Regions from separate parts of the Homo sapiens genome. Here all the other regions are linked to region 1. The links are contacts of gene promoters, found by promoter capture Hi-C in blood cells and fetal thymus (Javierre and others, 2016). All regions are on one chromosome and are shown on one strand. The core of a region is centred on a gene start or on the middle of the fragment in contact, and the rest is flanking DNA. Distances in the headings are between cores, read along the strand shown.

The links. Contacts are between HindIII fragments. The CHiCAGO score rates a contact against its expected background, and 5 or more counts as called.
Region 2: a contact is called between a fragment that was not itself captured here and the fragment with the promoter of LINC01948 in region 1, in 5 of 17 cell types (naive B cells, total B cells, neutrophils and 2 more). The highest score is 14.6, in naive B cells.
Region 3: a contact is called between a fragment that was not itself captured here and the fragment with the promoter of LINC01948 in region 1, in 9 of 17 cell types (naive B cells, total B cells, neutrophils and 6 more). The highest score is 16.5, in naive B cells.
Region 4: a contact is called between a fragment that was not itself captured here and the fragment with the promoter of LINC01948 in region 1, in 8 of 17 cell types (total B cells, naive B cells, neutrophils and 5 more). The highest score is 12.9, in total B cells.
Region 5: a contact is called between a fragment that was not itself captured here and the fragment with the promoter of LINC01948 in region 1, in 9 of 17 cell types (total B cells, naive B cells, neutrophils and 6 more). The highest score is 17.5, in total B cells.
Region 6: a contact is called between a fragment that was not itself captured here and the fragment with the promoter of LINC01948 in region 1, in 2 of 17 cell types (naive B cells and total B cells). The highest score is 5.9, in naive B cells.

The regions. Positions count from the first base shown.
Region 1 is chr5:56,479,868-56,483,839 of GRCh38, reverse strand. LINC01948 (long intergenic non-protein coding RNA 1948) reads left to right here and starts at 2,071. Exons shown (of 5, transcript NR_104664.1): 1 at 2,071-2,287. RefSeq lists enhancers at 2,143-2,302, 3,503-3,672. The HindIII fragment of the contact is 6,332 bases long and covers 1-3,880 here.
Region 2 is chr5:56,660,709-56,664,680 of GRCh38, reverse strand. No RefSeq gene overlaps it. Among named protein-coding and RNA genes, the nearest start is that of C5orf67, 56 kb to the right of the region's middle. The HindIII fragment of the contact is 2,308 bases long and covers 974-3,281 here.
Region 3 is chr5:56,641,763-56,645,734 of GRCh38, reverse strand. No RefSeq gene overlaps it. Among named protein-coding and RNA genes, the nearest start is that of C5orf67, 37 kb to the right of the region's middle. The HindIII fragment of the contact is 2,048 bases long and covers 1,226-3,273 here.
Region 4 is chr5:56,310,454-56,314,425 of GRCh38, reverse strand. The region is part of intron 2 of LOC105378977 (a long non-coding RNA gene); the gene reads right to left. Among named protein-coding and RNA genes, the nearest start is that of ANKRD55, 79 kb to the right of the region's middle. The HindIII fragment of the contact is 3,556 bases long and covers 283-3,838 here.
Region 5 is chr5:56,328,602-56,332,573 of GRCh38, reverse strand. The region is part of intron 2 of LOC105378977 (a long non-coding RNA gene); the gene reads right to left. Among named protein-coding and RNA genes, the nearest start is that of ANKRD55, 97 kb to the right of the region's middle. The HindIII fragment of the contact is 1,837 bases long and covers 843-2,679 here.
Region 6 is chr5:56,618,033-56,622,004 of GRCh38, reverse strand. No RefSeq gene overlaps it. Among named protein-coding and RNA genes, the nearest start is that of C5orf67, 14 kb to the right of the region's middle. The HindIII fragment of the contact is 6,601 bases long and covers 1-3,972 here.

The DNA of each region.
Region 1 (3,972 bases), core at 822-3,321:
CTGTTTTTTTTTTTAAATATATAATTTCAACTTTTATTTTAGATTCAGGGGTACATGTGCAGATTTGTTACATGGGTATATTGTGTGATATACATGTGATGCTGAGGTCTGGGGTAAAATGATCCTGTTACCCAGGCAGTGAGCATAGTAGCCAATAGTTATTTTTCAACCCTTGCTTCCCTCTAGTATCCCCCAGTGTCTATTGTTGCCATCTTTATGTCTATGTGTACCTAATATGTAGCTCCCATATATAAGTGAGAACATGCACTGTTTGGTTTTTCTGCTCCTGCATTAATTTGCTTAGAATAGTGGCTTCCAGCTGCATCCATGTTGCTACAAAGGACATGATTTCCTTCTTTTTTATTGCTGCATAGTATTCCATGGTGTATATGTACCAGTCTTCCATTGACGGACACCTAGGCTGAGTCAATGTCTTTGCTATTGTGAATAATGCTGTGAAGCACATAAAAATGAATGTCTTTTTGGTAAAACGATTTCTTTTCATTTAGATATGTACCAGTAATGGGATTGCTGCTGGGTCGAATGGTAGTTTTGTTTTATTTGAGAAATCTCCAAACTACTTTCCCCAGTGGCTGAATTAATTTACATTCCCACCAGCAATGCCAGCAATGTATATGTGTTCCCTTTTCTCCACAGCCTTGCCAGCATCTGTTGTTTTTTTGACTTTTTAATAATAGTCATTCTGAGTGGTGTGAGATCTCATCGTGGTTTTGATTTGCATTTCTCTGATAATCAGCAATGCTGAGCATCTTTTCACATTTGTTGGCTGCTTGCATGTCTTCTTTTGAGAAGTGTCTGTTCATGTCTTTTGCCCACTTTTTAACAGGGTTGTTTGTGTTTGTGTTTTGCTTGCATAGCTGCTTTCCATGTTCTTTTCTATGTTATCTAGAACTATAATAAAAGTAACTGCCCAGCTCTTTGGGAGGCTGGGGCAGGCGAATCACTTGAGGTCAGGAGTTCAAGGGTAGCCTGGCCAATATGGTGAAACCCTGTCTCTATTAAAAATACAAAAATTAGCCGAGTGTGGTGGCACACACCTGGATTCCCAGCTACTCAGGAGGCTGAGGCAGGAGAATTACTTGAACCCCCAAGGCGGAGGTTGCAGTGAGCCCAGATCGCACCACTGTACTCCAGCCTGGGAGACAGAGTGAGACAGCGTCTCAAAAAAACAAAAAAAAAGGAACTAGGTCTAAGACAGGGTACCCAATCTATTTCTAAGAAGATGCTACTTCTCATTTTCTGGAAACACTGTAGCAAAGAGGAAGGGACAATAATGTCCCATAGTGGGTGGGCAGATATAAAAACCCCAAGATGTTCATTTCAGGCCCAAAGTGACTACTGCTTGCTACCCTCACCTTTCTCTGCTGGAACACTACCAGCCCCTGTGAGATGTGGGTGATCTCATGGGTGTTTGGAAGAATCCCAGTACCAGGCTAGGGGATCATCAAAGCTGACTGGATCAGTCCTGCTAGATCAGGAAGCCTTACTGAGTAAGGCTAATGCCAGGTCTCCAAACTGCCACTGAGCATCAGGGGTCCTTCCCACAATATCTTTGTTTCTCTAGGTCAAGAAATGATGCCGTCCCTAGAAACAGCGCAATGTTTATGTAAGAGTCAACTCAGAGACCTTGTGCCGGTACAAGAGGTACTATCTCATCCTGCTCCCCTGCAGGCACTAAATGAGACAAAATTCCTTCTGGAGTTCAAGTCCAGAAGGCTGACTATGCTGTTAATGGCAGTATACTGAGTTAAGAGAATTCGGGGAGACGGGAATATTGGGTCCACGATTCTGCCTGGAGGGAAGAATTGTGGTCTCCTCAGTCCTGTGGAGTAGGGGTCCGGGCTGATGATAGCGCCTCCTGGTGCAGAGTATACAAACAGCTGAAGATCTGCCTGGACCCCCTACCCCTCTCTTTTTTCCTTGTGGAAACTGTGTATAATTTGGAAAGAGCAAGGACATCCTGGCTCGCAGCTGGCCAGCTCCACCTGCGACCTGGACAGCCTCGCCCCTCCCTGCGGAGCCAGGCGAGTTCACAGGGCTGCCTCCGCTTCTTGCAGCATGTCTGCTCTCCTGGCCTGGCCTCTCCAGACCTTTCCCTCCACGGGCAGCGATTTCCAAGGCTCTCAAGACTCCAAACCACGTCGTTTTGGGAGTGAAAAAGTGAAAGCACACATCGTGTCATTAGAGCAGCAGGGACCAGCTGCTGGGTCAACACTTCCGAAAACAGCGCTTCCTGGGGAGCGACCGGAGCATCTCAGAATCTACGGTTTGACCTCCTGCCAATTCTCATGGTGTCTTTATACATTTTAACACAAAAATAAGATGTTTTCACTTGAGAGCGAGAGGGAAATGAACTGTTAAGGTGCTCTGTCGCCAGAGAAGTGAAGTTGGGGGGTAAATTTTAGGAACCCCCGACCCCCCTACCGAGGGAGGATGCGAAGTCGGCTCCTGAAACGCGAGCGAAACCCCCGCGCGCTTCCCGGGGTGACGCACATGTCTGTGTTTCTTTTTGCTTTTGACCAAAAGTCGTAGGGAGGGTCCTCCTCAGGGGACAGTCGCGGGCGCTGTGCCAGTCCTTCCTGTCCCCCCACCAAAGTCAACCCCAGCCCCAGGCCAAGGCCGCCCCGGCCGGAAGAGCCAGCTGGTGGGGGCCGTGGGGGGCGCGGCGGGCGCGCGGGGCTGGGGGCGGCGGGTCCGCCTACCCCGCCTTCCTGGCGTGGAGAGTTTCGGCCCCAGCCTCGCTGGCGTGGACTCTGCCTGAACCACGCCTGGGATGCTTTTGCCAAAGGAAACTTGGGGGGTGGGGGCGGGGCGGGCGACGATTCCCCCCCTCCCCACCCCGCCCCTGTCCTCCTCGGCCGGGAGCCGCGCTGGGCCGGGGTCAGCTGGCTGCCTTTGTGGCCGCTTCCCAGGAAGGAAGAAGCGTTGTCTGCAGATCAGTTGATCCGCGGGCTTTCCTGTGTCGGAATGCCGCCGTTTTCCGGGGACGGCTGCCACCCCCGTGATTCCCAGCCGGGGCTGCCGGCCGTGCGTAAGAGCCGGATAAATAGGCCATTGTGAGGCCGTTCAGATCTAGGTTTCTTATCACAGTATCCACCAGCGAGAAGCAGATTCGGCCCCTGATGGAGCTCATCCCAGCTTCTCTTTTCTTTCTCTGCACAGTTACAGCCATTTCTATTTTTTGCAGTTGTAAAGGGAATATTCAGAAAGCAATTTATTGTGTGCGACAGGGACTTAAGGGAGCGTGTCTGCAGACCGTGTTCCCACCGGGGTTGGGGTTCGCAACCTTGAGTTTAGCTCGATGGGCTTTGGTGTGTGAGGTTTCTACCCGCCCATCGCCCAAGGCAGGCACGTCCTTAAACACCAGCTGCAAGTATCAGGAGGGCAAGTCCGTAGGTCTCTAGATCCAGTGGGTTGGCTTTTTGGTGTTTGTTTTGTTTTGTGATAGCCTTGATCTGCTTTGTGGACACTGAAAATTTGAAGGTCGAGGGAACACGAGTTAAAACAGGTCAAATGAGGGAGGTTCTGAGGAAGGCTGGTGGTTTGGGAAGAGCTGATGCTGATGGTGTTGAGTGTCTGTTTTGTTTTTGTTTTTCTGCTGCAGCAGCCGCAGGGCTGTGGAGGGGTTGGGGTTTCCTGGTGTTTGACTTATTGGATAGTCATTGCTTGGCATGGCTGGGTTTTTGGGCCTGTGACCTGTGCTCAGAAGCCGACGTGTGCTTAGTTGGATGCTCTACTGACACCATGTTGACATGCTTAATAATTTTTGAAAAGGACCCTGCATTTTCAGTTTGAACTGCACCCGGCAAATTATGTAGCCAGGGCTGTTAGTAGACTCTCAAATTCATTTGAATAAGCTTGAATAACGGTTTGAATCAGTTCCCATTTGAGATAAGGGCCTGTGGTTAGTCGATAAGCTGCTGAAGGTGATTCTCTTAGTTTTCAGAGTAT
Region 2 (3,972 bases), core at 878-3,377, 180 kb before region 1:
TCCCATCCCAAACCTCAGCATCATGCCATAAATTTATGTAACAAACCTGCACAGGTAACCCCTGAATCTAAAATAAAAGTTGGAATTATTTTTAAAAAATTTAAAAAAAATAAAAAGCCCAGGGAAACTGAAACAAAATAGCCATCACCCCTGCTCCTTTAATTCCTGTTGATAGTCTGGCATGCTTTCCTCCAGATTTTTTATGGAGTTGAAGTCACACTTCATACAATTTTGGATCCTAATTTCCCTAAACATTATATAATGAGTAATTTTCCTACCATTGAAAGACACTGCAAATAACTGCTGGGAGGCTGCACCTTATACAGGAAGCCAAATAACCTTAAATAACCAAATGCTATTACATCATATAGATGTACTATGATTTTTAAAAATGCTGTAGTGATTTTGCACATTTATATCGTAAATTTTTTTTTGCTTGTTAAATTTTTTGCTTGCTAAACATTTTTAATTGCTACTAAAAAATACCCACAAAAACAAAACCTGACTGCAGACATGTCTGCATTTTAGGATTGCTGGGTTATTAAAGATTTTGGTCATTTGTTTATTTTGTTTTCTTTCTTCTTCTTTCTTATTGTTAAAGAAGATTGAGTTTTCCCTTGGTGAGTGAGGCAGAGAGGATAGGGTGCCAGAGACCCCATTCTGAGGGCAGGCCCAGTAACTTAGCCAGGAAGGGACTCCTTATGGATAGACACTAGCTACAGTGATGCTGAGTCCAATTTTGCATAGTGCCTTTCCAAAATTTCCAAACCTTCAGTGTAAGTCCTATTCAATACGGCTGTACATTAGTGGTGCCTTGCGGAATGAAGGGGAACAGTGTACCTGCAAAGAAAGGAGGGCTGTGAGGGTGAGCAAGAGGGTTGAGAAGCTCAGCAGGAGCCAGGAGCAGGGGTTGGGAAATGAGTGACCGGCACCCACCCAACAGAAGCCTCCTATGGCAGAGCCTCTGGAAGCTTGAGATGGATACCAGACTTCCTGCAGTTCAAATAATTACATTTGAATACTGAAGAAAAGAGAGGCCCCCGAGCCTGAAGGATTCAGTTGTTATGTCATTCTGACAGCAAATAAGGGAAAACAGAGGAAGGGTTGAATGGGGACATATTATGAGGGAAAGATTTGGTCACTTACTGTGTCAGAAGGTGATGGGCATTAGACCTGGAGGAGGGAAATGCTATTTTATCAGAACAATTCCTGCAAAATGATCAAGAAGGGTACATGAAAATTTGTTCAGGGTTTTTGGAAAGAGAAAGGCTAATCCCTTCTGGAAGGCTTCTTTTATAAGGCTGAAATGTGGCAAGGTGAGCTATGATCCAACTTATTTGTAATAGAATCTTATAGGAGAGGAATTCATGCTCTGATGGGCTTGAACTCCAAAAGAAATAGAATTACTTGGGTTTTTCTTGTTCATTCCATGATGAAGCTAATTCAAATCTCAACTTAGTTGTGACTTTTTACTTAGTGACTTTTTTTCCCCATTAGAATCCCCAAATAAGTGACTTATTTATTCTCATGTTATTATTCAAACCATTCTTCAGCTCACACTCAACCTCTGTTAGACATGAAGCTGGGAAACGGCTGGGAGAACTTCTGATTGGGACATGCTTGCATTTTTCACATGACTTTGCCAAAACGGGTTTCTGTATTCAAACTGAGAGCTTCTACCTTGAAAGCTGTCTTAACTTAGCATTCAAATCTACTTTGCAAGATCTTGAATTTAGAATTTCAGCTAGTTTTCACAAGTAATTCGTAGAATGGTTCTATTTTTCTTGGGAAATGAAAACAGCACCTCTTTGGGCAGGATTTAGAGAACCCTAGGAAAATACAGGGCTAAGGTTTTGATGTGTCTTTTATTGTCGTATTGATTGGATAAGCGGTAATCTGGGAATCTCTCTTAGAAAGGAGCACATAGGACTTTGGCAAGAAGGCTGTTTTAATAAAAAATAATCTTCTTTAAAGGTCAGAGGCCTGTTATGTAATGTGTAAGGTAGGATAAAAGGCTGTTCTTTCTGCATCCATAGAATCCTATGTGTGCATAGTATGAAAAGCAATACCAAACACCCCTATCCAATATCAACTCAAGGAAAACAATAGAATACTTTCTTATGTCCAAAAATGTGGTATTCCTTTATGTGAAGTGTCTCTGGACTGGGAAGCAGGACTGAACTCTCCAGCATCTGGCATCTGCTTTTGTTGTATCAACATGGCTCTGAACAGGACATGGTGATGTCTCTGACATTTGGTCTCGAATATCTGAGCTTTTTGGTCTTATCTTCACTTTCATCAACAAGTTGAATGAAAATAGAGAAGACATATTTAGATGTTTGTAGATTACATAAATTTGAGAGGTTTTACTGACTGAATCAGTATTTCTAAAAGAGCTCCACATGTTAGATCAATGGACTGAAACTAAGGGGATAAAGTTAAATGAGGAATGAATATCAGATCTTCGGTTAAAAAAAACAAATTGACTGGAGATGACTGGCTTAACAGAAGTTCATGTGGAAAGTCTCATGAGTTTTATCACCGAGGAAGTCCAATGGGAGTTGGTTGCCACGTGGTGAGCATCAAGTCTTAGAGTGCATTCACAGGAGTAGAATCCTCTGATAAAGGATGGCAATGGCCTGTCTGCATTTTAACTCTAGTCAAACTGCAGCTGAGTTCCATATACTTAATAGGGTCAAAGACAAATAACAAAAAACAAAAAACAAAAAAGCAGAGTTTGGAGACAGTCAACCAGCTGGTTAAAAATCAGGCAACTGTATCATATCTGGAACTGTTGCAGAAATTGCAGAAACCATGATTTAGCCCAAAATGGAAAAGCTCAGGAGGAGGCATGAGTGATTTCTCTATGGAAGGGTTGAAGAGCTTATGGATTTTAGAAGATTTTATAGATTTTAGAGTGCATGTAGTAGTGGGGCAAGACCAGGATGAATGTCTGCATGTTTAAGGGAAATCAAATGGAAATTGATGCAAGAAAGGATTCTCCAATGATCTAATGAGTAAGATTTGTTCAAAAGTAGAATGGACTGGCATGGGAAACAGTCCCCTGACCCTGAAGAATGAGGCCAGGTCCCAACCTTCTGGCAAAAATTTGTGGGGGGAACAAAGTTTAAGTTGTACCAGATCCCCCTACAGATTCTGTTCGTTGCAAAGTAGGTACAGGTTTTTCCTGGGGCTGTTCCCTCTCCCCTTTATCACAGCCATCACTCTGGGAAGGACAGGATCAACTACATAGCACCCTAAAGTTAATCACCTGTAAAGCTTGATGTCTTGAGCCCATGGGTATTTACACTTCAGCAAAGTTCCACCAAAACAGACATACTTCTATTCATGCAGAATACACTTGCTTCCACTAACAAACATGGAATATCACGAGAATAGGATTTTCATGTGCAACAATAAACTCCTGGAAGGAGACATTTGGGGAGGGGGTCAACTTGCATCTCTTAAGTGAAAAGACACAGGCAAGACTTTATATCCTATAGAAGTAGAAAGTCAGGAATGATTCTTCCTCACCTATCTGTTCTAGACAGTATGCTGTCTCTTTCCTCAAGGCAATTAGCAATCATTACCTAATGGGCTCAGGAGAAATAGAATACAGGAACTGTTACTGTTCCTTTTTTTTTTTTGAGATGGAGTTTTGCTCTTGTTGCCCAGGCTGGAGTGCAGTGGCACGGTCTCTGCTTACTGTAACCTCCGCCTCCTGAGTTCAAGCAATTCTCCTGCCTCAGCCTCCCTGAGTAGCTGGGATTACAGGCATTCGCCACCATGCCCAGCTAATTTTTTGTATTTTTAGTAGAGACGGGGTTTCACCATGTTGGCCAGGCTGGCCTCAAACTCCTGGCCTCAGGTGATCTGCCCACCTTGGCCTCCCAAAGTGATGGGATTACATGCGTGAGCCACCGCGCCCGGCCTGTTACTGCTCCTTGGTGTTGTTGTGGGGTTGAAAGATCA
Region 3 (3,972 bases), core at 1,000-3,499, 160 kb before region 1:
GATTGGCAGGGTTGGTGGGGTGGGGTGGGGGAGTGGGCCTTACACAGTTCTTTCAGCCCAGGGCTACTGAATGTGTCACTGAACCCATGACTCTGCTTCCATGCTATTTCACAGAACCATTTAAAGAGCAGCATATGAAAGAAAACATTAAAAAACATAATTTTATTCAAGAGTACATTCCAAATGCCTTGGTATCGAAATCGCTCCTTCTACACCTTAAGTTGATTTCCCCTAATTTGGTTTTCCAGGTATGTGCAAAGAAATCATCCCTGTGTTTTAGATATTTGAAGTTTCCTAAAACTTCCTGTTCATCTCTTCTGAGCAAACCTTTGCTTTTCTCCCCAATCTTTTAGGTATTTCCTAGTCCGTTTGAGCTCTTAGCTGGTTTTGCATTTTTCTCTGCATCTCATCTAAATTTACCACCTGTTTAGGTTTTAATGTGATAATTAACAGAGTATATTAATATGCCCTGACTTGGAAATTCAATTTGACAAATATTTACAATTGGCTTTTCTGTACACAGCACAGCTATATGCTCTGTAGGACAAAAGAATGGGTGCTGGCAGGTCCCCACTCTTAACTGCCTTACCACCTGGTAAAATAAAAATGTAATTGTCTCAAAATTGGTCTTAGGGCCAAAGAGAAATGTTTACCACAATGATTTCAAGATACCACTTTCCAGATTTTTTTTTTATCTTTAAGACAGAGAGCTTGCTGTAATTTATAATTTTTCAGAAGATTTGGTCTCAGTGAAATCTGTTGTACTGTCTTCCATGCTGATGTCTCCCTTCTCTGAGTTATTTTAGTGCATATGGCCGGTACTGCACAATTTATTTGTTCTCTAGTTGTTTCCTGTATGTGTCCCTTTTCTACTACCAACCAAGGTGTAAGGTGGGGAAGGTAAGGACAATCACTATTACTTTTCTCTCCCTTAATATCTGCTAAAGTGCCAGACAAATAGTTATGCAAAAACCAGCTGGTTTCTTGGCTTATGGGCTGACACCCAGGAGAACTCTTCTTCTCTCTAATGTCTACACACTTCTGATATGCTGCTTTTCATCCACCAACAATGGGCAAAATCGAATGAAAAACTTGTTAGCATTGTGGACAAAATAAGAGTACTTAGCTCTGAGTGATATTCTAAAAGATCTCTTGTCAATGAAATTCACAACCATGAAATATAGATGTTTAACATATTAATGTCTATTTTGCCTGCTCAGAAGCTTCCCTTTTCCAAGCTCATTCTTACTTTTTGGTTATTTCAATATTTTGAACAGGCTGAGGTTAGATAAGTGAGTTCTGAGTAAATGTGGTGTCATTATCATGGCCTTCCAAATAAGTTTATAAATTGTTTTTTAATTTTCAGATCCAGAAAATTGGAGCTTCTCGTAACTTTATAGCTTTTGATTGCCGAATGGCATGACTGGATTTTTGGTAGAGTTATGAAAAATCTAATGAAAATATGATATTTATAATCCAAAGTATATTATTTTGTTTTCAAATATCTGAAAGGACTAAACGATTCACATTCTAAAAATAATTCAAACAAATCCACAAAGTATAATTAATACATTAAAGTTTATACAAGACAATTTTACATAAGAAATCCTTTCAACAAATCCCTGTAACTAATAATTTTTTTTTTTTTTTTTGAGACAGAGTTTCTCTCTTGTTGCCCAGGCTGGAGTGCAATGGCCTGATCTTGGCTCACTGCAACCTCCACTTTCCAGGTTCAAGCGATTCTCCTGCCTCAGCCTCCCAAGTAGCTGGGATTACAGGTGTGCACCACCACACCCAGCTAATTTTGTATTTTTAGTAGAGACGGGTTTTCCCCATGTTGGTTAGGCTGGTGTCAAACTCCCGACCTCAGGTGATCCACCTGCCTCGGCCTCCCAAAGTGCTGAGATTACAGGTGTGAGCCACTGCATCTGGCTGTAACTAATAATTTTTTATTGGTATTTAACAAAGTGATACAATTCATAACAGTATTCCCCATTGGTTATGAATGCAGAACAGGAAGGGATTTGGAAAATCAACCCAGGTATACTGAAGAGGGAGGTTACAATTGCACCTAAAAAAAATCTTTCAAACACAGGGATTAGAATTTACATGAGATAATATTGGATTGTTCTTGTGGAAAACTCAAGTTGGCTTGGGTGGCATGGACATTGGAAATAGACTCTCCCAATGCAAGACAATTCCACTAGGATTTACTGAGTGCTTACTATGAGCATTATTCCCACGCAGGCCCTCAACCAAGTATTAACCAGACACAACATTGCTTACTTTCAAAGATACAATGAAATTGAGGATATGAAGGCTGATACAGCCTCATACCCCAAGCAAGTATTTATTGAGTGCCTAATGTGGGTCAAGAACTGTACTATTATATTACATCCTTTTTTGTTTTATTATTATTATTTTTTCAACAGAGTCTCACTCATTGCCCAGGCTGGAGTGCAGTGACATGATCATAGCTCACTGTAATCTTGACCTCCTGGGCACAAGGGATCTTACTGCCTCAGCCTCCTGAGTAGCTGGGACTACAGGTGTGCCCCACCACACCCAGATAACTTAAAAAAAATTTTTTTTTGGTAGAGATGGGGTCACGTTGCCTGGTCTGGTCTCAAACTCCTGGCCTCAAGCAATCCTTGTGCCTTGGCCTCCCAAAGTGCTGGGATTACAGGTGTAAACCACTGTACCTGGCCCCATTCTTGATTATAGATGAGAAAACTGAAGCTCAGAGAGGGTAGTTAATTTGCTGAAACACAGGAGCCAGGGTTTGCAGTCAGGCCTAACTCCAATGAAGTAGCTTCCTTTCTGTCCCATTGTCTCCTATGTGGCTGCAACCAGAATTTCCTACCTTGATAGGATCCTTTCTCCCCTTCATTGAGCTGTGGGTACCACAGTGACCTGGGGCAGGGGCCCACCTACAACTACATAAGATGGAGACAGAAGGGCTTAGATGTCAGGAACAGTCAGTATGCCGTATGAATGGGAATTCTAGTTCCCTGACTTACAGAAATTCTGAGAGAATTGGCACTGGTATTAGCAAGAAGTACTTTGGGCATCTCAGATGAAAGGCTCTACGTGAGTACAGAGGGTGGCTATTAGAGACTGGCATGGAATTTTATATGAAGGAGAGTGCTTACTAATTATAAGATAGCTACTCATTAGTAGATTTATTTTCTAGCTTAATCTCTCATTGTTGCTATTACAAGGACTTAGAAAAAAATGCCCAAAGGTTTATGACCAAGACTCAAAAGCTAAGCTTGCATGTCCTGAATAGACCTATCTGATTAAAATAATAAAAATAATAATAGTAATTAGAATAAATTCTGTTTACACCTTGTCTTTGCCTGAATGGCTTTAGAGTCCTGTAAAACTTTGCCTTTAGTATCTACATTCGTTCATTGGTCTGTGCTTGCCTGAGCATCTGAGAACATTTTAGAAATATTAGAAACTGACAGGACCACAGAATTAATGAGGCATCATCTTTGGAGCATACCTGTTGGGAGGAGAAGAAGGGAAAGGTGAACTTTGTTCTCCTGTAGCTAGATGGCCGCAAATCTTCCAATTCCTTTCATGTTCTTAGCCAATCCTGGTTCAGCCCTAAAGATTGTTATTATAAAATCCCCTCGAGTTAATGTTTCCCTTTGTCTATTGTTTAATTAATGACCCAGGCAGCGGCTCAGAAAGGAATGCAATTCTCATAAAACATTTTCCCACATTAAACAATCAAAAATTATTTGGGGGGAAAAAGAGAGAGAAAAGCAGGACAGGAACTTGGAGTTTTAGGCAACCTTTTACAGAAATTTGATTGGTATTTTTCTTTTCTGGCTATAAATAGAAAGCCAAGGAAAGGTTAAGTGCTAGGGGCGGGGTCACGGAGTAGATGGGAGCTGCCAAGCAGGAGTGGACGTGGACTGTTCAGGTCGTGAGGTGCACATTCTTTGTGTAAAAGAACATTTC
Region 4 (3,972 bases), core at 811-3,310, 170 kb after region 1:
TCCATATATGGATTCAGTCCTTTTCTGTCATTTTGTCATTTTCATGGAATCTGGAGTTACGGAACCATCCAATGTTTATTACAGAGAATGACCACCCATAAGCCTCTCCATGCTTATGGAAGCAACAGTTCTGGGGCCGCTGGCTGCATATTCCTTCCAGGTGTTTATTTCTGGGTCTACATCATGTCCCTCACTCATCAATTTAACTCTATCCAGAGAATTCCTCTATGGTCTTCATCAGATTAGGAAGTAAATCATCAGTCACTTCAAATATTTCAAGCTTGGTTTTCTTTGACATAAATCAGTTCTCCTGACTACAATTCCTGGAAAATATTGTAGAGCCCAGCAGCATTGCAGTATTTCAACCTTCATTTGAGTTGCCTGTGACCCAGATGTGAGCTAGTGCTTCCACAGTCTCAGATGTCTGGGTGAATCCACCAATTCTACACCTGTGAACATCCCTGCCTTTGATTCTTTCTAATTGTCAGGAAACTTGCACTCATAATCCCTCCTGCCTCTGGCTCCTGGGTCCATATGTACTGGCTCTGTATCAGCCTCTCTCAACCCAGGTGTAATACTCAGCCCTTTGTCATTTTATACAAAACAATTCACACTTTAAGCATTTCTTGAGTAATACTTTGTACAAGTAATACCTTGGGATGCAGAGTGAGAGTATGTGGGTGGGTCATGTTACATAGTTCCAGGCTTCCCAAGGTCCTCTACCTCTAGGCTCTCTGTCCTGTCCTCTCTTCCTTCCTTATTTTCCCTGGGAGCTCCATGACCTTCTCCCTCTATCAGACAAATTAGCCCAGTTCCCCTTAGCTCCTACCGCTAAGTGTCCATCAAGGCCCTCAGCGAAACAAAGTGTGTTCTGTTTAACAAAATCTATGTTCCTTAGAACATAGCTAGAATATAAATAACAACAAAAGTTCAGGTGCATATATATATTAGTTGATGAAATCAAGTATAAATCTCTGCCTCCATTGAAAGATAGCACAATGTTTTAGAGAAGGAACTGAATTAGGAATCAGTCTATTCGAATTTGAGGCCCAGCAGCACCCTTCACTAGACAGGTGAAAAAGCCAGCAATTCATTTTCGGTCTCAGTTCATCATCTGAAGAGTGAAAATGTTACAAATATTTTGAATCATTATGCTGATTAAAGGAAATAACTTATTCACATGCACTCTGAAACATTAGAGCAGCGTTTCTCAGGACTTTTTTAGTTTTACCATGACTGAGAGTGCTGCTGGCACTTTGGAGGAGGTGCTGGGGATGCGAGGTGGCTGCCAATGTGGAAAAATTGTATATAACACAGTACTGCCTAATTATCAATAACATACCCATTGAGAAATGCTACATCTGAACACAGTATAAATGAAAGGTACGTTACTTCTGACCTTCCATCTTTTACACAAAATGCTGATGAATTTCTTCATGGTGTAGATAATTCTTTTAAACAATTTTCCTCATTCTGGATTATTTTAGCCCAATCTTTGTTCCAAGGTGATAGTTTCTCTGCCTTCCAATGATGCTGCCAACATTTTAATTGCAATCTTGAGCTTCCTTCTATACAGAGTGCTTCCATTTAGGGTATCTTTGTTTGATCTCTCAGTTGAAACTACATTTTACCCTCCAGAAAACAAAAAGAAGAAAGACAAATTATGGGTAAAGGCTGAGAGAATTTTCCACGTGGTGAAGGCAAGCAGTATGAGGAAGCAGGTGAGCTAAGTACCCACGGGGCAGCTATTCGGGCCAGTAGTTGTTTTCCCAAGGCCAGCGTCACCTGGTGTAAACAGCTGGTGGGCTTTTAATCAGGCTTCAAATCTCTTTCCCACCTCTCCTCTTCTGATTGCAATAAGCAATGTAGCCCTAACTAGGGCCCAGACTTCCAGACTGCAGACTTCCAGGAGCAACACAGTTCTATCCCCATTCTGTGACTTGCCATCTGCCCATGAAGCCTTGAGAGGGTCCATCATCTGCAGGCCTGACTCCTGATTTGCTCTCTTGGCTGTGGTGAAGCACTGTGGTCACCCACATACACTCTCCCTTTATCCTCAGGCAAGGACTCAGGGCTGCTACTCCTACCACAGAGGTAGATGGACCCCATGAGGTGGGTTTGGGGGAGGATTAGCATGTACTTTCTTTGGGCCAAGAGCCAAATGAGCATTTACACTCATCTTACCAACACTACATCCTTAGGGTTTAGAGAGCTGTTTTGAAATGCTTGATACAGTGAGGGTGCTCAGAGATATTTCATCACTTATATAAGAGGGGGGACCCCTGCCTCTATAGGCTTATGGAGGAATGTGATTCAGATGAGAGTAGGAGGGCCTAACTGGCTGGGAAGGTATGGAATCTGTAAGCCAGTTATACTCCTATTTCCAGTCAACAGGCTGAACCCATAAGTTTTTGTTTTTAGATGATATCTCTGATTATTTTGACAATGTCACTTCTCTGAAACTTTCAATGACTCTCTCTGCTGATAGAAAAATTCCAATTTCCTTAGCCTTTCATTGAATCTATCCATAATTTGGGTCCAACCTACTTTTCTAGTCTTCTATTTTGTAACTCCCCTCGCAAATCTTACACCCCAGCAGTTTTGAATTAAAACAAAACAAAACAAACTTTTTCTTCCCTGAAAACAGGTCCTCCAGCTGGTCCTACTATTAGTTAATGAGCAAAATGACCCTGGCAAATCATTAACGTCTCAAAATCCCAGCAGCCTAGCTTTTAAAATCCAGTGGCAAGACCTTGGCTGATGAATTTTTCACAAGTTGCCCAGGTGAATCTAACACATCAAACATCTGGACCTAAAGCCCTCTTCAACTATGATTTTCCCACACATTCCCCAAGCACTGCAATTCTCTGTCTCCACGTGCTTATCAAAGTATCTTTTCCTGGAATGCTTCACTTTCTCTCTGCTTAACCCTGTAAACTCAGGTGCATACACACATGCACACCTGTGCACATACACACACGCCAAGGCCCTTCAAGATCAGCTCCAACACTGCCCTCTCCAGAAGGTCTTGCCTAAGGTTGGAGCTCACCTTTCAATGCCCTCTTTCTTCAAACAGCTTTAAATAGCATTTATCACGATTATTCCTTGGTGGGTCTTAGCTCACCACCGGTAGACTGAAACTTGTTGAGAGTATTCCTTCTTGCTCACCTTTCATTTTCCACATTAATCGTGAAAGTAGCTTGTGAGAGTTGGTTGAATTGAGTTAAATTAACCTGACATGAATTAATTGAGAGACATCTTGCTGAAGGTGACAAGTTGGAGGCTCTTGGGAGGATTATAGATAAGGGTGGAGGGCTTGTGTCTCCTGACCTATGTCTCTGCCTATCGTGGAACTCTTACCAGGCACATCCCCTATCTGTCTCTATCCACATGTGATTGTGGACTCAAAATCAAAAGAAGGGCTGCAGCTGTTTTTTGTCAAAATCGGACAATTTTATATCTGTAATCTTGCAGCCAGAGCGGTTGAGCTGATATATTTCATGACTCACTCTAGACAGATTAAAGTCTGTCCCTGAGAAACGAGGAGGGGGAACCATTAATCTTTCCTAAAATAAACAGAGAGTTATAACAGCTCTTTAATCTGAAAAGTGGAGATCCTGAGCTGGAACACAGCACCCAAGGGCGCGCCAAATTCCACGATGAGTAAAGAGTGCCCAGATAATAATTGATTGTGGGATCCTCTTCCCTGTGGTCCCTGAGGGGCGTTCACAGTGTCGCCAGCATTTAAAGAGGCTTTGGCAAAGTATCTGTCCCAGCTCCATATGAAAGAAAGACTTGTCATCATCTGAACCCTTTGGGACACTTGCTTTGCTAAGCTTGCATGGAAGCTTTGGGGTGCCTATGCAATTAGCATTTCACTCTTGGTGGCCTACCACTGTGTCCCATCCATGCGTCTCCCACCCAGCCACCCCCATCCACAGGAGTTCTTGCTTCTCCCCAGGCATGGCAGAG
Region 5 (3,972 bases), core at 512-3,011, 150 kb after region 1:
TACTGTTCAATGTAATGCAGGACTGTGTTAGCTCCTGTGGCCGCCATAACAAATTACCACAAGTTTGTTTGGCTTAAAACAACAACAATTTATTCTCTTAGAGCTCAGGGGGCCAGATGCCTGAAATGCAGGTGAAGCAGGGTTGAGCTCCCTCCAAAAGCCCTAGAGGAGAATGCATTCCTTGTCTCTTTCACTTCTGGTGTCTATTGGCTTTCCTTGGCTTATGGCTGCATCTCTGCTCTGTGCTCACATTGCCTTCTCTTCTGTATGTGTGGTATTGAACTTCCCTCTGCCTCTCTTTCTCACATGTGATTGTATTTAGAGCCCACCCAGATAATTCAGACTAAGCTCCTCCTCTTAAGATATTTAACTTAATAACATCTTTCACCATACAAGGTGATATTCACAGATTTTAGGCATTAGACATGAACATATCTTTGAGGCCATCATTCAGTTCACTACAGGGACATACACAAGGATATTTATTTTTTAAATTCTATTAACAGCAAAAAACTAGAAACAGCACAAATGCCCCACCCACAAGATAATGCATAATGTATAATGTAATAAGAATATTATATAGCAGTATAGAGTCAATTTCATCTTCATCTATATCAGCACACATAGTTATCAAACACTTGTCATAAAGCAAGTTGCAGAATGACATATACAATATTATATCATTTATTTAATTTTTAAACAGGAATACATATATTTATTAGAAGTACGCAACATGAGCTAAATAGATATATACAAATATATGACAGTGTTGGAAACTGGGGAGCACCCATGGCATAGAAGATGGGAAGTAGAGCAAAGATGGTTCCATTAAAAGAGAAGCTTCTTTTATAATAATACACAAAAGACAAATTCCAAAATGTGAACAGTCCTTAATCTTGGGTTATAGGCACTGAAGTGTTTGTAATTCTATGCACATTTTAAATGATTTTTTAAATATTTTATAATTTTGTTTTTTATATTTAAAGATAGAAAATATTTTATGGTTATTCAGAAAACAGTATGAAGGATAAATTAGAATAGGCAGGAAATAGAGGGAAGGAAACCATTTAGAGACTACTACAAATAAGAAATAGAAAAGATGTATGAAGATTGGACCTAAGAAAGTGACCATGAAAACAGTGAGAAAAGGGTGATTATGAACAAAATTTACAAGGTAGACTCTTTAGGGCCTGTCTACTGAGTCAATGGGCACCAGGAGCGAGAGCGAGAAGGAAGATTCAAGGTGATGCCAAATTACTGACCTAAGAAACAGGTTGAATGGTGGCAGTGCAGTCACAGACAACTACTAATCTGCTTTCTGTCACAGTGAAATAGTTTCCATTTTCTAGCATTGTATATAAATGAAAGGCAGTAGGCACTATTTTTTTTTTTTGGTCTGGCTTCTTTCTCTCAGCACATTTATTTTAATATCCATCCCTGTTGTGTGTATAGCAACAGCTCATTCCTTTTTATTGCTGATTAGAATGGCAAGTTTCATTGACTGTCAGTCACCCTGGAGTGTCATTCCTGGCTGAGCCTCTCCCTGGCATGTGGACACTCAAGATTCATTCCCCCATCATCTGCCCACCTCCCTCCCACATCTGAATCTGCAGCTGTTTGCCTTCCCCAAATCCTCTTGTCACTGTTTGACGAGCAGTTACTGTTAGAGTGATTTCCTGGTGGGTTGCAAAATGTTACAATGTAACCAAGTATTAAATGAGCAAAATACTCTCCAAGGAATTGGAGGAGGTTGTCTTCAAAGTTGAATCTCAAAAATTCTGATTTTTCTACATTTCTGCTTAGTTCATCCTTCTAAAAAGACACCGTCATTTCTAATATGGACTCACTAAAGACATAAAGATGGCCAGTACAAGTAAGCTAAGACTACTGAATGAACACTCCAATTACCTTGTTTGAGGTTGGTCCCAAATTTATCTTTTGGTTGGCCTGCACGGATAATAAATAAATAAGCAAACAACAATAGAATAAATACCAGTGGCCTAAGTTCCACATCATTAGCATTTTGTGTTCCCAGAGCTACCATGTGGATCAGATTCAACTGGTATCCTGAGGGCTCCAGTGCTGCCTTAGAAAAATGATTAGTCTGGTGTACCAACCTCTGGGAAGTCTGCTATAGCCAGATTCCAGGAAATAGGCACTTTGACAGAGTCTTCAGCATGAATGCCCAAGGGAAGGAGAAGCTCTGAAAGAAAATTGTTTTAAATAGCTGCCTAATGATTGAGCGTCATGAAATGCTTTCACTTGGCAGGGCAAAATTGCACTACCTAGAAATGTCTGGGTGGCATTTAGAGTTGACAGACAGTAATGAGCGCTGGTTAAAAAAAAAAAAAAAGAGGTATTTTAGTGCTCTAGCAATTGCTAGACCTTCAGAAACACATCTCCCTTCTATATTTACACCTGCATTTTAAAAAGAAAAAAGAACAAAGAGAAGGAAAGAGAAAAAGGAAGGAAAGAAAAAAGGGAGAAAAGTATATCTATCATTTTATCCATTTCTAAAGACTCTTACATCAATTTAAAAGCTAACCATAATTGATCTTTTACTATGAACAATGTTTTGTGCTAAGTGCTTTACAAATATTAGCTAATTTCATCTTCACAACAACTGTTTAAGGCATACAACATTATTTCTCCCTTCTTACACATAAAGAAACTGAAGCTTGCCTGAGGTCATCATCTAATTGACAAGTCACGGTTCAAACCTAGGTGAGTCTAGCTTTAGAATTTGGGTTTCAATCACCGTATGGCATTGCTTCTCTTTCCTAACCTGGACTTAGTGATTGTGCAAACAGTGATGTCAACCATCTCAGCTTGCCTGGGTAGGGATGAAGAGAATTTCCTTCGCTCTTGCTTCTGAAGTTTAAATAATTTGAGTCTATAAAACAAACTAACAATAGGCAGATTCACAGGGAAAAAAAAGTGTACAAATTTTATTAATGTGCATATGGACACAGAAGCCACACACAAAGTATGAGACTCAATGGAAAGCCAGATGGCTGAAGGTTATATACCATACAGCAAGGAATAGAGGCTTGGGGCATGGCAAGACAAGTTATTGGAGGAAGAGGGGAGAAAAGGCATGGTGAGCAAAGGCTATCTTGTTATGCAGATAGAGCCCCATGGATAGCAGCCCTCGGAAAGAACAGACAGTATCCTGCTCTTATGTGGTAAAACTTTATCTGTCAGACCTTTTGAAGTGTCAGAACTTTAGTCCCTCTTTCCTGTGATTTAATCTTTCCTAGGTCTGGATAAGGGAGGCCTTATAAAACCCTGTTTGTGTCTGCTGTTAACTTCATTTCACTAATGTAGATTTCCTCTACAGATGCAAATCTCCCCGCCTCCCCAAAAGACAGCTTTTCAAAGCTTTTCCTGTGGTTTGCAGTTCCTGTGAATAGTCATATCAAAATATACCAAAGAAGTATATTTTGGAGTGGCATATTTTTGTTTCCTTTACCTGAGACCCACAGGACCTAAAGCGCTAAAACCTGGAAAGTCCCAGGCTAACAAGCATGAGTTAGTCATCCTCCAAGAATGCAAAAATATGAAAGAAACCTCTCTCTACTCAGTGATAAAGCTTCTCCAACTTAAGTGAAGGGACATTATAGTGTGCAAAGAGACCAGGCCCTAAAAGAACTGAGTCCTTGTCTCAATCTGCTTATAGCCAGCTCCAAGAGACCTTGACCAAGTCAGGTGACCTCTCTGGGCCTCAGCTCCTTCCTTCTTAAAATGATGAAGGTGGGTTAGATAAACAGGTCTCCACTTGGCTGTACATGAGAACCATGTGAGGAACTTTCAGTAAAGGCCGGTGCTCAGACCCCACCCCACCCCTGACCAATCAAATCCCAGAATATCTGGGGTTGGGGAACTGAATTTACTGCAGAGAACAAAGCATACATGTCCCACTTCTTAGAGCTAACAATTTAGTGGAGGAGCAAAAAGGCAAACTATGATTCA
Region 6 (3,972 bases), core at 487-2,986, 140 kb before region 1:
GAGATAAAAGATAGAATTGAGAAAAATCCAAAAATAACTGAGGAAAAGAACTGAATTGCGAGAGATTAGAAATGACATTATGGCTATGAAGAATAGTCGATGGAGATTTAATACACAGAAAATAGCAATTCATGGACAAGAAAAGAGAAAAAATAAAACATTCAATGATATAATATAAGAAAACTTTCCTAGAATGAAGGACAATCTGAATCTGCAGATTGAAAGGGATTATTGTAACCTGGGAAAACTTAATAAATAACAACCCATATCAAAGTATATTCTGGTGATGTTAAATAACATCAAAAAAGAAAAGGAAATGAAAAAAAGAAATTTCTGTAATCATCCAACAATAGAAACAGAAGCAGATCACTATTACTTTATTTCTACCCCTACCTCCATAAAAATCAGCCCACAAAAACAAAAACAGGCCAACAGTTTAGCCTGATCTCAAGCACTTCAGGATCATTTTCTGATGAAGACAATGGAATAACATCTAAAGAATGCAGAGGGGAAAGAGTGTCACTCAGCCAAGATGTCTTTCTCATGTAAGGGAAATACTAAAATATTCACAGGAATGGAATTATTCATGTACCCTTCCTGGAAAATTTTTTGAGAAACATAACTCAGCTAACCAGATTAAATGTAATAACAATGATGTAAAAAGAAAGAAAGAATCCTAACTTTATAAGTGAAATAAAAAGAACTGGAAATAACATCGAATTGATTTAGATTTTAAATTAAGGGCAATAATTTTAATTGAAAGTATAGAGAAATTTCTTCCTATACGGATACCTGAAATTAATATTTATAAAGGCAGGACTGAGCTGGTGGTAAAGTGGGGAAACAATTGGAGGCCAGAGACGGAAGAAAGGATGATACCACAGGTAGAAGTGAACTCTGATCTGTGTTTGCCTTGTGCAATATCCCCTTATACTCCCTTAAATCCCTGGAGGATTTTGTCTAGATTTCCATGGGCCAGATATTCTCAAGGGACAGGAGCAAAAACTGGAGCTTAATCCAGGACAGGGTGGATTGAATGCCTTCACATAAATTTAGAACTTCTAAAAGATGTCATCTTCAGTGAGTAAAAAATCAATGAGGCAAAAAAGGACTATTCAATTAGAAGTAATGGGAGAAAATTGGTTGTCCTTACAAAGGATAAAAAAATTAAAAATGCCTTTCTCTTTAGACCTTACACAAAAATCATTTCCAGATTCATTCATGACTTAAAAATGGAAAGGCCAAATTTAAGCCTTTTAGAAAAAAATAGGAAATATCTTTATGATTTTGAGGTAGGGAAAGACTTCCTATGCAAGACACCAAAAGCATCTAAACATAAAGGAAAAGATTATTATACTTGACTATATTAAAATCAAGAACTTCAGCTTATCAGAAGAAACCTTATTTTCTCTGAGAGAGAAAAAATAAGAGTCATAAAGAGGGAGAAGACATTTGCCACACATGTGACCAAAGGGCTAGTCTCAGAATGCAAAAGAACCCTTTGAATCATTAAGAAAGAGAGGAATAAACTAATAGAAAAATGGGCAATTTTCATGAACAGTCATTTTCTAGAGGAGGAAATACAAACAGCCAGTAAATATATAAAATATTATTGCTCTTATTATATGTCAAGACAATGTAAATAAATACTACAATAGTATCCTTTCATATCAGATTAATGACAGTTAAAAAGTCAGTTAATACCAAGTGTTGGCGAGAAAGCAACAGGAGCTTTCAAAGGCTGCTTGTGGGAGCGTAGCTTGTTACAATTGCTTTGTTAAACAATCCAGCACTAACTGGTAAAGGTGAATATGTGCATACTCTAAGACCCAGGTATTTATCTTCTATGTATAAATCTTAGAGAAACTTTTACAGGTGAACCAGGGCATGTTCAGAAAAGCGTTATTCCTATTAGCAAAAATCTTAAAGTAATATAAATATCCATCAACAATGAATTGGATTAAAAAACTTAAGGATATATATATACTGTACTACCATGTAGCAGTAAAAATAAATGAACATGCTGTATTCTATCTGTATATGTAAACACATATGATGCTGAACCACAGAAGGAAGTTACAAAAATATAGAATGATTTCGTTAAGAAAAGTTGAAACAAGGCAAATGAAATGATATATTGCTTGGAGGAAACACAGGTGGTAAAACTATGAAGAAAAGCAAGGGAATGCTCAGTGCTATTTCAATGTAGGATACGGCTGAGGGCATAGAAATGGACAGATCAGAAAGCAGCACATAAGCCCTCTGCATGGATCAGAGCACAGTGTGAGGGACATGGGTGTCATTTTTTATTTTTCATTAAGTAGTGAAAATATACTGTATGTACTTTTAGTACATACAATTTTTAAGTATTTTAAGAAGTTAAATGGAAAACTATAATAAATATGGTGAAAAGTGATTTTATTGTAATAAACTGACAAAAGTACAGGTGTACATCAAGAAAATTAATTTAGTGTAAAAAGTATTAATAAAAGCAAAGCAAATGATTTTATATGTTGGCTCAAATACAAAATTAAGACAATAATTATAAAGAGAACACATAGGAGCCAAAAAGAGGCAGCTTTTAAAAAAATAGGATGCAAAGCCCAGAAACAGACCCAAGCACATATAGAAATCCAACATGTAAAAGCAATGATAGCTCTTATTTTGATCACATTTACTAGGTACATTGCTGCTTGAACTTAAATTAACTCCTGATTTAAATGTAGAATGAAGCCATAAATATAAGACTCAGAATGCAGCTTAAATGTCACTTCCTACAGGAAGTTTTCTTTGACGTCCCTGGAAGTCCATAAATGCTCCTGCTGTGGGCTTCCAAGCAGCCTATATATTCCCCATTACTACAGATAACATTCTTCATAGCAGTTCTGTGTTCAAATCCACCCCATTCTAACCCCCTAGAAGACTATGAGCTCAATGAAGGTATGGTACTATTCTTGTTTTTGTGTTTTGAGACAGGATCTCTCCCTGTAGCCCAGGCTGGAGTGCAGTGGTGTGATCACAGCTTACTGTAGCCTCCAACTCCTGGGCTCCAGCAATCCTCATGCCTCAGTCTCTTAAGTAGCTAGGGCTACAGGTACATACCACCATGGCCGGCTAATTTTTTTTTTTCATTTTTGCAGAGACAGAGTCTCACTATTTAGCCCATGCTGGTCTCAAACTCCTGGGCCTCAAGCAATCCTCCTGCCTACGCCTCCTGAGTCGCTGGGATTACCCATACGAGGCATTACACCCAGCCCCTTATTTTATCTTATTCACTAGCAAAGTGGAGAGTGCCTGGCACAGAGTAGGTGTTCAATAAACATATGTTAAATTCACACATAAATAATCAGAGAAATGGATTTCAATTTGATATGGGGCAGGCCTATGAAAGCAAAAGCCATAGCAGCAAATAATTGAATAATTGACTACATCAGACACAAAAACACAATAATTCTATAACCAGAGAAAAGGCAAATGGCAAAATTGAGAAAATGTATGGTATTGAGATAGAAGAATAGGGAATTAGGGTAACCAGGGGTTAAGGCATAAGCAAGGGAACAGCAGGTGCAGCCAGTTCTAGGCAAGATTAGGCAGTAAACAGGCCACATATTCACTCCTGTGACAACAAGACAGAAGTCTCCACTTCAGCCTCGGACTGGTCGTAGGGCAATCCTTCATAGGGTGTAACCAATTGGAGGCCTGTAAAGGGCACCTACGGGTGTTACCAAGTTTTTTGTTTTAGCTTAATAAAAACCCTAAAGAACATTGCAATGGGGTGGGGGTGGCTCTTGAGCCGCTTGCTAGAGCCTGCTCACACTCTGTGGAGTGTACTTTTGCTTCAATAAATCTGTGCTTTTGTTACTTTTTTCTTTTGTTGCTTTGTTTGTGTGTTTTGTTCAACTCTGTTCAACAAGCCAAAAACCTGGACAACTTACAGTCAAGACCTTTCATTTGGTAACAGTATTAAAATGT